Regions from separate parts of the Homo sapiens genome. Here region 2 is linked to region 1. Evidence: promoter capture Hi-C in human tissues and cell types (Jung and others, 2019). All regions are on one chromosome and are shown on one strand. The core of a region is centred on a gene start or on the middle of the fragment in contact, and the rest is flanking DNA. Distances in the headings are between cores, read along the strand shown.

What was found. The method cuts DNA at HindIII sites, captures the fragments that hold promoters and counts their contacts. A contact is called where the count stands out against the background at its distance.
Region 2: a contact is called between a fragment that was not itself captured here and the fragment with the promoter of SORD in region 1, in 1 of the 25 tissues and cell types used here (lymphoblastoid cells).

What each region holds. Positions count from the first base shown.
Region 1 is chr15:45,020,763-45,025,907 of GRCh38, reverse strand. SORD (sorbitol dehydrogenase) reads right to left here and starts at 2,713. Exons shown (of 9, transcript NM_003104.6): 1 at 2,559-2,713. The coding sequence starts at 2,624. RefSeq lists silencers at 1-200, 2,764-2,933 and an enhancer at 1,344-1,994. The HindIII fragment of the contact is 3,784 bases long and covers 1,946-5,145 here.
Region 2 is chr15:44,872,187-44,877,331 of GRCh38, reverse strand. It overlaps the pseudogene SORD2P. Among named protein-coding and RNA genes, the nearest start is that of TERB2, 82 kb to the left of the region's middle. The HindIII fragment of the contact is 5,830 bases long and covers 1-5,145 here.

The sequences.
Region 1 (5,145 bases), core at 1,464-3,963:
GGACAGGACAACTCTTTGTTGTGCAAGATAGCACTATGAACTGAATAAAGTCCGCAGTAGTGCTCCTCAGTCATCGTGACAACCAAGCCTCCCTGACACATTTCCAAATGTCTCCTGGGTGGCGGGGCAGTGCAGTACTGCTCAGTAGAGGAGCAAAGGACTCCTGAGTTTACATTTCCACCCCTGATAGTATCCCTGCACTCCAGACCCCTGCACCCAAGGAAATTTCTCAAAGGCACCTTGTGTCCTGTCCCAGAGACATCTTTTTTTTTTTTTTTTTTTTGACATAGTTTTGCTGTCATTCAGGCTGGAGTGCAGTGGTACGATCTCAGTTCATTGCAATCTCTGACTCCCAGACTCAAGCGATTCTCAGCTTCCCAAGTAGCTGGGATTACAGGCATGTGGCACCACACCCAGCTAATTTTTGTATTTATAGTAGAGACAGTTTCACCGTGTTGGCCAGGTTGGTCTCAAACTCCAGACCTCAAGCGATCTGCCTACCTTGGCCTTTCAAAGTGCTGGGATTACAGGCATCAGCCACCACACCTGGCCTCCAGAGACATCTTAAACTCAACTTTTCAAACCTGATCTCATCATTTTAATCTACTCTGACTAGTAAATGACGCTACCACTTCCCATTCTCAAACTGAGCCTAGGTGTTTTCCTAAATCCTCCTCTGAACTCTTTTACCCAGCTAGTGTTCCAGCACACAACCAAAGGTGAAATTCTCTAGCCCATCATATTTTCTAGATACTTCAGGTTACAGCCACCCCAACCTAGCCCCTAATCCAGTCAGAGAGTGGGTTCTAATGCAAAGCTGATGAGATCAAGGTTAGTTCGCTGCTGCTCTAATCTTCAAAGCTTTGTCTACGGAACCATAGTAGAGGTAGTCTGCCTGAGCAGTGGAAGACCATGAGTTTGAGGTAAGATGAAGGAGAACTTAACTGTGTTTCTGCACCTTAGGTGCATGACTTTTAAGCAGGCTCTGAGCAGATAGAGGGCCAAGGGCCCCTCCCTGTGGCGTCTTTTCTCTCTGAGGCCTCCATCAAAGCCCTCGGGCTCTGTCATAATTGTTGACTTTATCTGTCTGCCTCCCTCAGTAAACTTGGGAGCAGGGGCTGTGTCCTCCTTTCTGGGCCCTCAGCCCAGTGCCTGGCACATGGCAGGCACCCTTTCATGAGTGAATGTTTGTGGAATGAAGTACTGAGTTGGAAATCACTCTGCAAGCTGGGTAGAGCTGGACCACTTTCCCTTACTCATAATACCATCTGGCATTTGCAACAGTAAACACTAACAGCCTCACTTTAATTCAGGACCTTGGGTGGAGGCTCCAAAGAGTGGAATGAGCACTAGAATGGGGAGTCTGAACATCTGAGTCCTTGTCGTGGCTCTGTTAACTAACAAAACCTATCACCTTGGGTATGGTACTTTCTTCAACTGAGGAGATGGAGAGTCAGCTGGGACAAGGGTTCTATAGAGGGGCTTAGAGCGGCTTAAAGGGAGTCCTTGAGCAGTCTGAAATTGTTGCCAAACTCAGTCTATTTGCATTCTGTGGAGGGGACACCACAGATTCTTAAATAGTCAAGAACTGCTAACCTGGATAAGCTTCTGAATTACTGCAGTTTACATACTGACGCATGTACTTTGAGGGAAAAGAGGTACAGGGGAGCAGCAGAGATGGCTGGCACTCATCCCACATACCCACTGCCATCCCAGGCCCATCTGAGAGGGACTTTGTCAAGGGAGGCTTGGCATGACTAGGCTGCTGACTCAGCCACTTCCTAAACTTTGGTGCCACAAGCCAGGGAGCAAAAGGCAGGGTCTAAGGCAGAGGACACACATACAGAATGCTCCTAAAGGGACAGAGGCACGGGATTGGAAAGAAAAACTGCTGGAAAGTGAACCAGACAGGGTCTTAGGGAGAGAAGGATCCTTACAGACAAGGGAGCTATCAAGATCCACAAGTCTGGCACAGGCAAGGGGAACAGCAGGGGTTCTGGAGATGGAGGCCTAGACTGGAAGGAAAGGAGAAGGAGCTGGCACTTCCTGAGCACGTACTAAGTGCTGAGTACTCTTGTGATCATCATAATCCTGCAAGGGAGGTTTATCAGTCCCAAGCAAGGGAGTTAAATACAAGTTCTGCTGTTTCTAAGTGTCCTCTGGCCCCCCTTTCTCTGCTCTGCACGGTCTGCCCCGATAATTCAGACAGCCTTAGCATTTCCTTTGGAAAGGTCAATGACAAGAGGCTGGACTATGAATCTGCAGCTGGCAAAGGAGAGAGAAAGCTTCATTCAAACAGTTTGCAACCGTCCTGGGCACCGGCCACGTGCCAGCCACGGGGCTAGGTTCCGGGAGGCACACGACTAGATCCCTGCCCTTCGCAACAGCCACTACCTGCTGCCCCCACACCCCGAGGGGAACCAGCTGGGATCTGGGCAGCCAGGGCGCTTAAGGTGCGGGGCCGGCGCCAGGCTGGAAGTGGGAAGCCAGGACTATGGCTGGGCTCAGAGGAGAGTGAGGCAGGATCGGTATGCTTCCCACCCTCCTTCCCAGCTTACCAGGCGCAAGTCCCCCGGTCCGTGCACCACCAGGGAAAGGTTGTTGGGCTTGGCCGCCGCCGCCATGGAGCTCTTTTGGCTCTGGAGTGCGGCCTGGAAGGCGCGGGACGTTTGGTCGCTCTGGTGGCGCTACCCAGCCGAGGGTCCAGGGCACTGGATGGAAGGTGGGGCCTGGGAGAAGCGCCGCACGCAGGGGCGGGACTAGGCTTCCTCCTTTGTGCCAGCCTGGGCGGCGCTAGCGTGGAGGGGCGGGGCTTCCCAGCCTCCTCCAGACCCGGAGGCGGGGCGGGGCTTCGGGAGGGGGCTGGGAGCGAGAAGCCCGGGTGCTGGCTCCATCTGCAGCGCGCTGTTTTTTTTGTTTGTTTGTTTGTTTGTCGCCGAGGCTGGAGTACAGTGGTGCGATCCCGGCTCACTGCAAGCTCTGCCTCCCGGGTTCAAGCCATTCTCCTGCCTCAGCCTCCCGAATAGCTGGGACTACAGGCGCCCACCACCACGTATTTTTGTTTAGTAGAGACGGGGTTTCACCGTGTTAGCCAGGATGGTCTCGATATCCTGACCTCGTGATCCACCCGCCTCCGCCTCCCAAAGTGCTGGGATTACAGGCGTGAGCCACCGCGCCGGCCCTGCAGCGCGCTGTTTTTGCCGCCTCACATGCAAGCACACACGGCTGCCTTGAAAACCGCCTGCAGAGGCAGTAGGCACCAGACCAGCGCTCTCAAACGTTAGCTGCAGAAGAATTGGGGTGGGGAATGTGAGGCGCTGTTGAGAATGCACATTCTCAGGACCAGCACAGAGATTCTGATACAGTAGGTCTAGGTCTGAGGTGCTGCCTGAGGGTCCATATTCCTAGCAACGAGAATGCTGAGGCTGTGGGTGGAGCACGGTGTGCACTTTGCGAGACAGGTGCTACCATGACGCAGCGTCCACGTCGGCCCTTTGTCTCCAGCCCCCAGGAAAGGGCCTGGCACGAGTAGGAGTAAATGAATTCGTGCATCATTACATGGGCCTGGTGCTTAAGTATAAAAAAGACATGAGGCCGGGCGCAGTGGCTCTTGCCTGTAATCCCAGCACTTTGGGAAGCCGAGGCAGGTGGATCACCTGAGGTCAGGAGTTCGAGACCAGCCTGACCAATATGGTGAAAACCCCGTCTCTACTAAAAATACAAAAATTAGCCGGGCATGGTGGCATGCGCCTTAATCTCAGCTACTCGGGAGGCTGAGACAGGAGAATAGCTTGAACCTGGGAAGCAGAGGTTGCAGTGAGCTGAGATCATGCCATTCAACACCAGCCTGGGCAACAAGAGTGAAAATCTGTCTTTAAAAAAAAAAAAGCCATGAAATGGAATTTGTGAACCTCTTTCTCTCAACTGGATCTGCTGCTTCTATTCAAAGCAGAGTTTCTGCCCAAACTCTTCCTTCAAGCCTCTCAGCCCTCTGAGAAACAGTGAGGTTTTACTCTCTGAGGAGAGAGGCGCTTCTAGATAGGCCTAAGTCTATAAGGCCCCTCCCTCCTTTGAGGATAATGCTCAGGATTTCATTCCCTTACAGTCCCCCCTCCCCAATATGTAACCGCCCAATGGATTCACCTTGCCTGCTGCCTAGACAAAACTAATTTATCAAGACAGGGGAACTGCAATAGGGAAAGAGTTCATGCAGAACCAGCTATGCAGGAGACTGGAATTTCATTATTGCTCAAATCCGGCTCCCCAAGCATTCGAGCATACGGGGACTCAGAGTTTTTAAGGATAGTTTGATGGGTGGGGAAAGGCCAGTGAGTCAGGAGTGCTGATTGTTTGGGTCAGAGATGAAATCATAGGGGATCTAAGCTGTCTTCTTGGACTGAGTCAGTTTCTGGGCGAGGGCCACAAGGTCAGATAAGTGAGTTTATCAATCTGGTTGGTGCTACGCCTTGAGGGACCGGTGCCAGTATAGGCTGTATTTGTTCCTTGCTGAGGGCCCTGGTTCCTCTGGCTAAGATTAGGCCTAGATATTTGACTTGTTGTAGGCAGAGCTGGGCTTTCAGTTTAGACACCTTGCCCGCTTGATTACCTAGAAAGTTCAAGAGATCTAGAGTAGCCTGCTGGCATGAGGCTTCCAAATTGGTAGCCAAAAGTAAATCATCCAGATTCCGTTCCAAGATGGCCAAATAGGAACAGCTCCGGTCTGCAGCTCCCAGTGTGATCGATGCAGAAGACGGTGATTTCTGCATTTCCAACTGAGGTACCTGGTTCATCTCATTGGGACTGGTTGGACAGTGGCTGCAGCCCATGGAGGGTGAGCCGAAGCAGGGAGGGGCATTGCCTCACCCGGGAAGCGCAAGCGGTTGGGGGATTTCCCTTTCCTAGCCAAGGAAAGCTGTGACAGACTGTACCTGGAAAATCAGGACACTCTCACCCAAATACTGCACTTTTCCAACGGTCTTAGCAAATGGCACACCAGGAGATTAAATCCTGTGCCTGGCTCAGTGGGTCCCACGCCCACAGAGCCTTGCTCACTACTAGCACAGCAGTCTGAGGCAGCAGCCTGGCAGGGGAGGGGCGTCCGCCATTGCTGAGGCTTGAGTAGGTAAACAAAGCAGCCGGGAAGGT
Region 2 (5,145 bases), core at 996-3,495, 150 kb after region 1:
ACTTATGCAAGTAATCAGGCAGAGCATAATAAGACTAAAACTTATTTTGCAAGTAAAGTTGACCTACTGTGATTTATTTTTAATTAAAAAATGGGGACTGGAGACAGAAAAATTATGCTCCAAAAATAAAAAACAATCATTGTTAGTTGTTCTTGAGTTTTTTCTGCAGTTTGGACTAAATCCTAAATTATTCATGGACTACAAGTCTCCAAATTAATGTTTTCAAATCTTTACTTTTAAAAGTTGGAATTGCATGCCTTATGCTAGAACTCATTATTTACTTTGTAGTGTGCTGTTCCCTTAAATGCAATACTAAAATTATAGATGACAATACTAACACATTTTTCAGCCATCCTGCGTGAGTATGTTCAGACAGTAGCAAAATGATTCCAGTCCTCTCACCTTGGGGTCAACACCTACCCCGACTATGCCCCTGGTCAGCAGGAAGAAGTTAGAGTGGTCTTTGCCCTTTCTCCATCTTCATTAGCCAACACCTTAAGATTAAGGTGTTATAAAACCCAAAGGAAGGGATTGAAAACGCCATTGCAAAAACATAACTGAGACAGTAAAAGAGATCCAACCTAACCAAGTCCGTCTTGCTTCTAACCTCCAAGCTGTCCTTGTTCATTCCTGGGCAAAGTCTGAAATAACTTTGTGGGGAACTTAGTTTTTTTGTTTTCTGTTTTTTTGAGACAGAGTCTCACTCTGTTACCCAGGCTGGAGTGCGGTGGCATGATATTGGCTTACTGCAACCTCTGCCTTCTGGGTTCAAGAGATTCTCATGCCTCAGCCTCCCAAGTAGCTGGGATTACAGGTGCCCACCACCATGCCCGGCTAATTTTTGTATTTTTAGTAGAGACAGGGCTTTGCCACGTTGGCAAGGCTGGTCTCAAAATCCTGACCTCAGGTGATATGCCTGCCTTGGCCTCCCAAAGTGCTGGTGAGAGGTGGAGCCAGCTGGACTTCCTGGGCCAAATGGGGACTTAAAGAACTTTTCTATCTTACAAGAGGATTGTAAAATGCACCAATCAGTGCTCTGTAAAAAAACACCAATCAGCATTCTGTAGCTAGCAAGGGGATTGTAAAATGCCCCATCAGTGCTTTGTAAAATGCACCAATCAGCAGGATCCTCAAAGTAGCCAATCACAGGGAGGATTGAAAAAAGGGTTTCTGATAGGATAGAAATGGAACATAGGAGGGGACAAATAAGGGAATAAAAGCTGGCCACACCCAGCCAGCAGCAGCAAGCTGCTCGGATCCCCTTCCATGCTGTGGAGGCTTTGTTCTTTTGCTCTTCAAAATAAGCCTTGCTAGTGCTCATTCTTTGGGTTGGTGTCACCTTTAAGAGCTGTAACACTCACCGCAAAGGTCTGCAGCTTCATTCTTGAAGTCAGCAAGGCCATGAACCCACAGTCAACCAACTCTGGACATATTTTGGGGGCTCATCCAGGATAGCATCATGCAGTGAGTACCATTTCACTTGCTATTCTGTCCTATTTTTCCTTAGAATTCGGGGGCTAAACACCAAGCACTTGTCAGCCAGTTAGAAGGAACTAGTGTGGCCCCCAGAATAAGACACGGGTGTCAGGCTTTCTAGGAAAGGGCTCTCTAAAAACCCCCCAACTCTTTGGAGTTAGGAGCATTGGTTTGCCTGGAAACAGCTTCTGCTTCTCCTGTACTTCCGGGCTGAGCTAAGGGTCAACAGAGAGGAAAGCCATTCACTCTGGGGTCCTAACAAAAGTTGGTTGACCTTGCAGCCATGAGCAGACTCTCAAAGTTACATCACCCAAGTGAGACTTGTCCATCTATCCTATCTATCCTGATCCTTGCCTCCTGGGTCCTAATGCCTGTCAGACAAACTTCCTCCTGCCTCTGTTCTCCAAGGGTAATCCTGCTTCTAAAAACCACTCCCTGTCCCTGGTGCTTTTCAAGTTTCTCCTATAAGAATTATTTTTGTATAAATTTCGGGACTCTGTTCCCTTTTTGAGGCACCCAGGCTCACCAATCAGAAAGACATAATTATTGCCCGAAGCCCTATCTCGGAGGGACTATCTGGAATTTTAGGATCCCTCTACAGACGAGTAGGCCTAACAAAGGCTATTCCCAAAGCTAAGATATGCAGAGCCTCAGAAATTATAGATTCCAAAATTGGGAGGGGGGATATCCTTCCTATTCATATGATGAGAAGTGAGGACAAAAGGCATCACTCTTACAACCCTGGCGATCCCTTCCCTCCTTCAAGTATGGCCCTCCACTCCATTTTGAGGCATATCTTCTCTATAGGACAAGGGTAAGGTCACAATACCAACAGAAGAAAATGCTTAGGACTCTTAACTAACAGGTTTTCGAGAATGTGTAAGGGCCACTGAATCCGATTTTTCTCGGTCCTCTTTGTGGTCTAAGAGGAAAGGCAAGGGTGCAGGTTTTCGAGAATGCATTGGTAAGGGCCACTAAATCTGACCTTCCTCAGTCCTCTTTGTCGTCTAGGAGGAAAACTAGTGTTTCTGCTGCTGCTTCAGTGAGCACAACTATTCTGAACAGCAGGGTCCAGGGACCGTTGCAAGTTTTTGGTCAGGGATAAAAAAATGAACCAAAATCATGGGCAGTTTTTTCTTTTAGATGGGAAACACTCAGGCATCAAACAGGCTCACACTTGAAATGCATCCTAAGCCATTGGGATGAATTTGACCTGCAAGCCCTGAAAAAGAAGAGGCTTATTTTTTTCTGCACTGTGGCCTGGTCCCAATATTCTCTCTCTGATAGGGAAAAATGGCCACCTGTGGAAAGTATAAATTACAGTATTATCCTGCAGCTTGACTTTTTCTGTAAGATGGAAGGCAAATGGAGTGAAATACCTTATGTCCAAGCTTTCTTTTCACTGAAGGACAATCCACAACTATGCAAAGCTTGCAACCTACATTCCACAGGAGGACCTCTCAGCTTACCCCCATATCCTAGCCTCCCTACAGCTCCTCTTCCTATTAATGATGAGCCTCCTCTAATCTCCCCCACCCAGAAGGAAACAAGCAAAGAAATCTCCAAGGGGCCACAAAAACCTCTGGGCTATTGGTTATGTTCTTTTCAAGCTGTAGGGGGAGGGGAATTTGGCCCAACCTGGGTACATGTCCCCTTCTCCCTCTCTGATTTAAAGCAGATCAAGGTAGATCTGGGGAAGTTTTCAGATGATCCTGATAGGTATATAGATGTCCTACAGGGTCTAGGGCAAAACTTCGACCTCACTTGGAGAGATGTCATGCTATTGTTAGATCAAACCCTGGCCTTTAATGAAAAGAATGCAGGTTTAGCTGCAGCCTGAGAGTTTGGAGATACTTGGTATCTTAGTCAAGTAAATGATAGAATGACAGCCAAAGAAAGGGACAAATTCCCTACCAGTCAGCAAGCCATCACCAGTATTGATCCCCACTGGGACCTTGACTCAGATCATGGGAACTGGAGTCGCAAACATCTGTTAACCTGTGTTCTAGAATGACGAAGAGAATTAGGAAAAAGCCCATGAATTATTCAATGATGTCCACCATAACTCAGGGAAAGGAAGAAAATCCATCCACCTTCCTCGAGTGGCTATGGGAGGCCTTAAGAAAATATACTCCCCTGTCCTCTGACTCCTTTGAGGGTCAATTAATCCAAAAGGATAAGTTTATTATGCAACCAGCTGCAGATATCACGAGAAAGCTCCAAAAGTGAGCCCTGGGCCCTGAACAAAATCTGGAGGCATTATTAAAGCTGGCAACCTTGGTGTTCTATCACAGGGACCAAGAGGAACAGGCTGAGAAGGAAAAGCGAGATCAGAGAAAGGCCACAGCCTAACTCATGGCCCTCACATGAACAAACCTTGGTGGTTCAGAGAGGAGAGAAAATGGAGAAGGCCAATAACCTGGTAGGGCTTGTTATCAGTGTGGTTTGCAAGAACACTTCAAAAAAGATTGTCCAATGAGAAACAAGCCACCCTCTCGCCCATGTCCACTATGCCAAGGCAATCACTGGAAGATGTCCTGGAGGACAAAGGTTCTCTAGGCCAGAACCCCCAACCAGATGATCCAACAACAGGACTGAGGATGCCCAAGGCAAGTGCCAGCTCATGTCATCACCTTCTCTGAGACTCGGGTAACTTTAACCATTGAGGGCCAGTGAATTGATTTCCTCCTGGACACTGACACTGCCTTCTCAGTGTTACTCTCCTGCCCCGGACCACTGTCCTCAAAGTCCATTACCATCCGAGGAATCCTGGGACAGCCTGTAACCAGGTATTTCTCCCACCTCCTCAGTTGTAATTCAGAGACTTTGCTCTTTTCACATGCCTTTCTTGTTATGCCTGAAAGTCCCACACTCTTATTAGGGAAGGACGTGTTAGCCAAAGCTGGAGCTATTACTGATATGATATGAATATGGGGGACAAGTTACCCATTTGTTGTCTCCTACTTGAGGAGGGAATCAACTCTGAAGTCTGGGCATTGGAAGGACAATTCAGAAGGGCAAAAAATGCCCAGCCAGTTCGAATCAGGCTAAAAGACCCCACCACTTTTCCTTATCAAAGGCAATATCCCTTAAGGCCCAAAGCTCATAAAGGTTTACAGTATATTGTTAGACATTTAAAAGCTCAAGGCTTAGTAAGAAAATGCAATAGGCCCTGCAACACTCCAATTCTAGGAGTACAAAAAGCAAATGTTCAGTGGAGACTAGTGCAAGATCTTAGTCTCATCAATGAGGCAGTAATTTCTCTATATCCAGTTGTAGCCAACTCCTATACCCTGCTCTCTCAAATACCAGAGGAAGCAGAATGGTTCACTATTCTGGACCTCAAGGATACCTTCTTCTGCATTCTCCTGCACTCTGACTCCCAGTTTCTCTTTGCCTTTGAGGATCCCACAGACCACACATCCCAATTTACGTGGACAGTCTTGCCTCAAGGGTTTAGGGATAGCCCTCATCTGTTTGGTCAGGCACTGGCCCAAGATGTAGGCCACTTCCCAAGTCCAGGAACTCTGGTCCTTCAGAATGTGGATGATTTATATTTTTTATTATTACTATACTTTAAGTTCTAGGGTACATGTGCACAACATGCAGGTTTGTTACATAGGTTACATGTGCCATGTTGGTTTGCTGCAACCATCAACTCGTCATTTA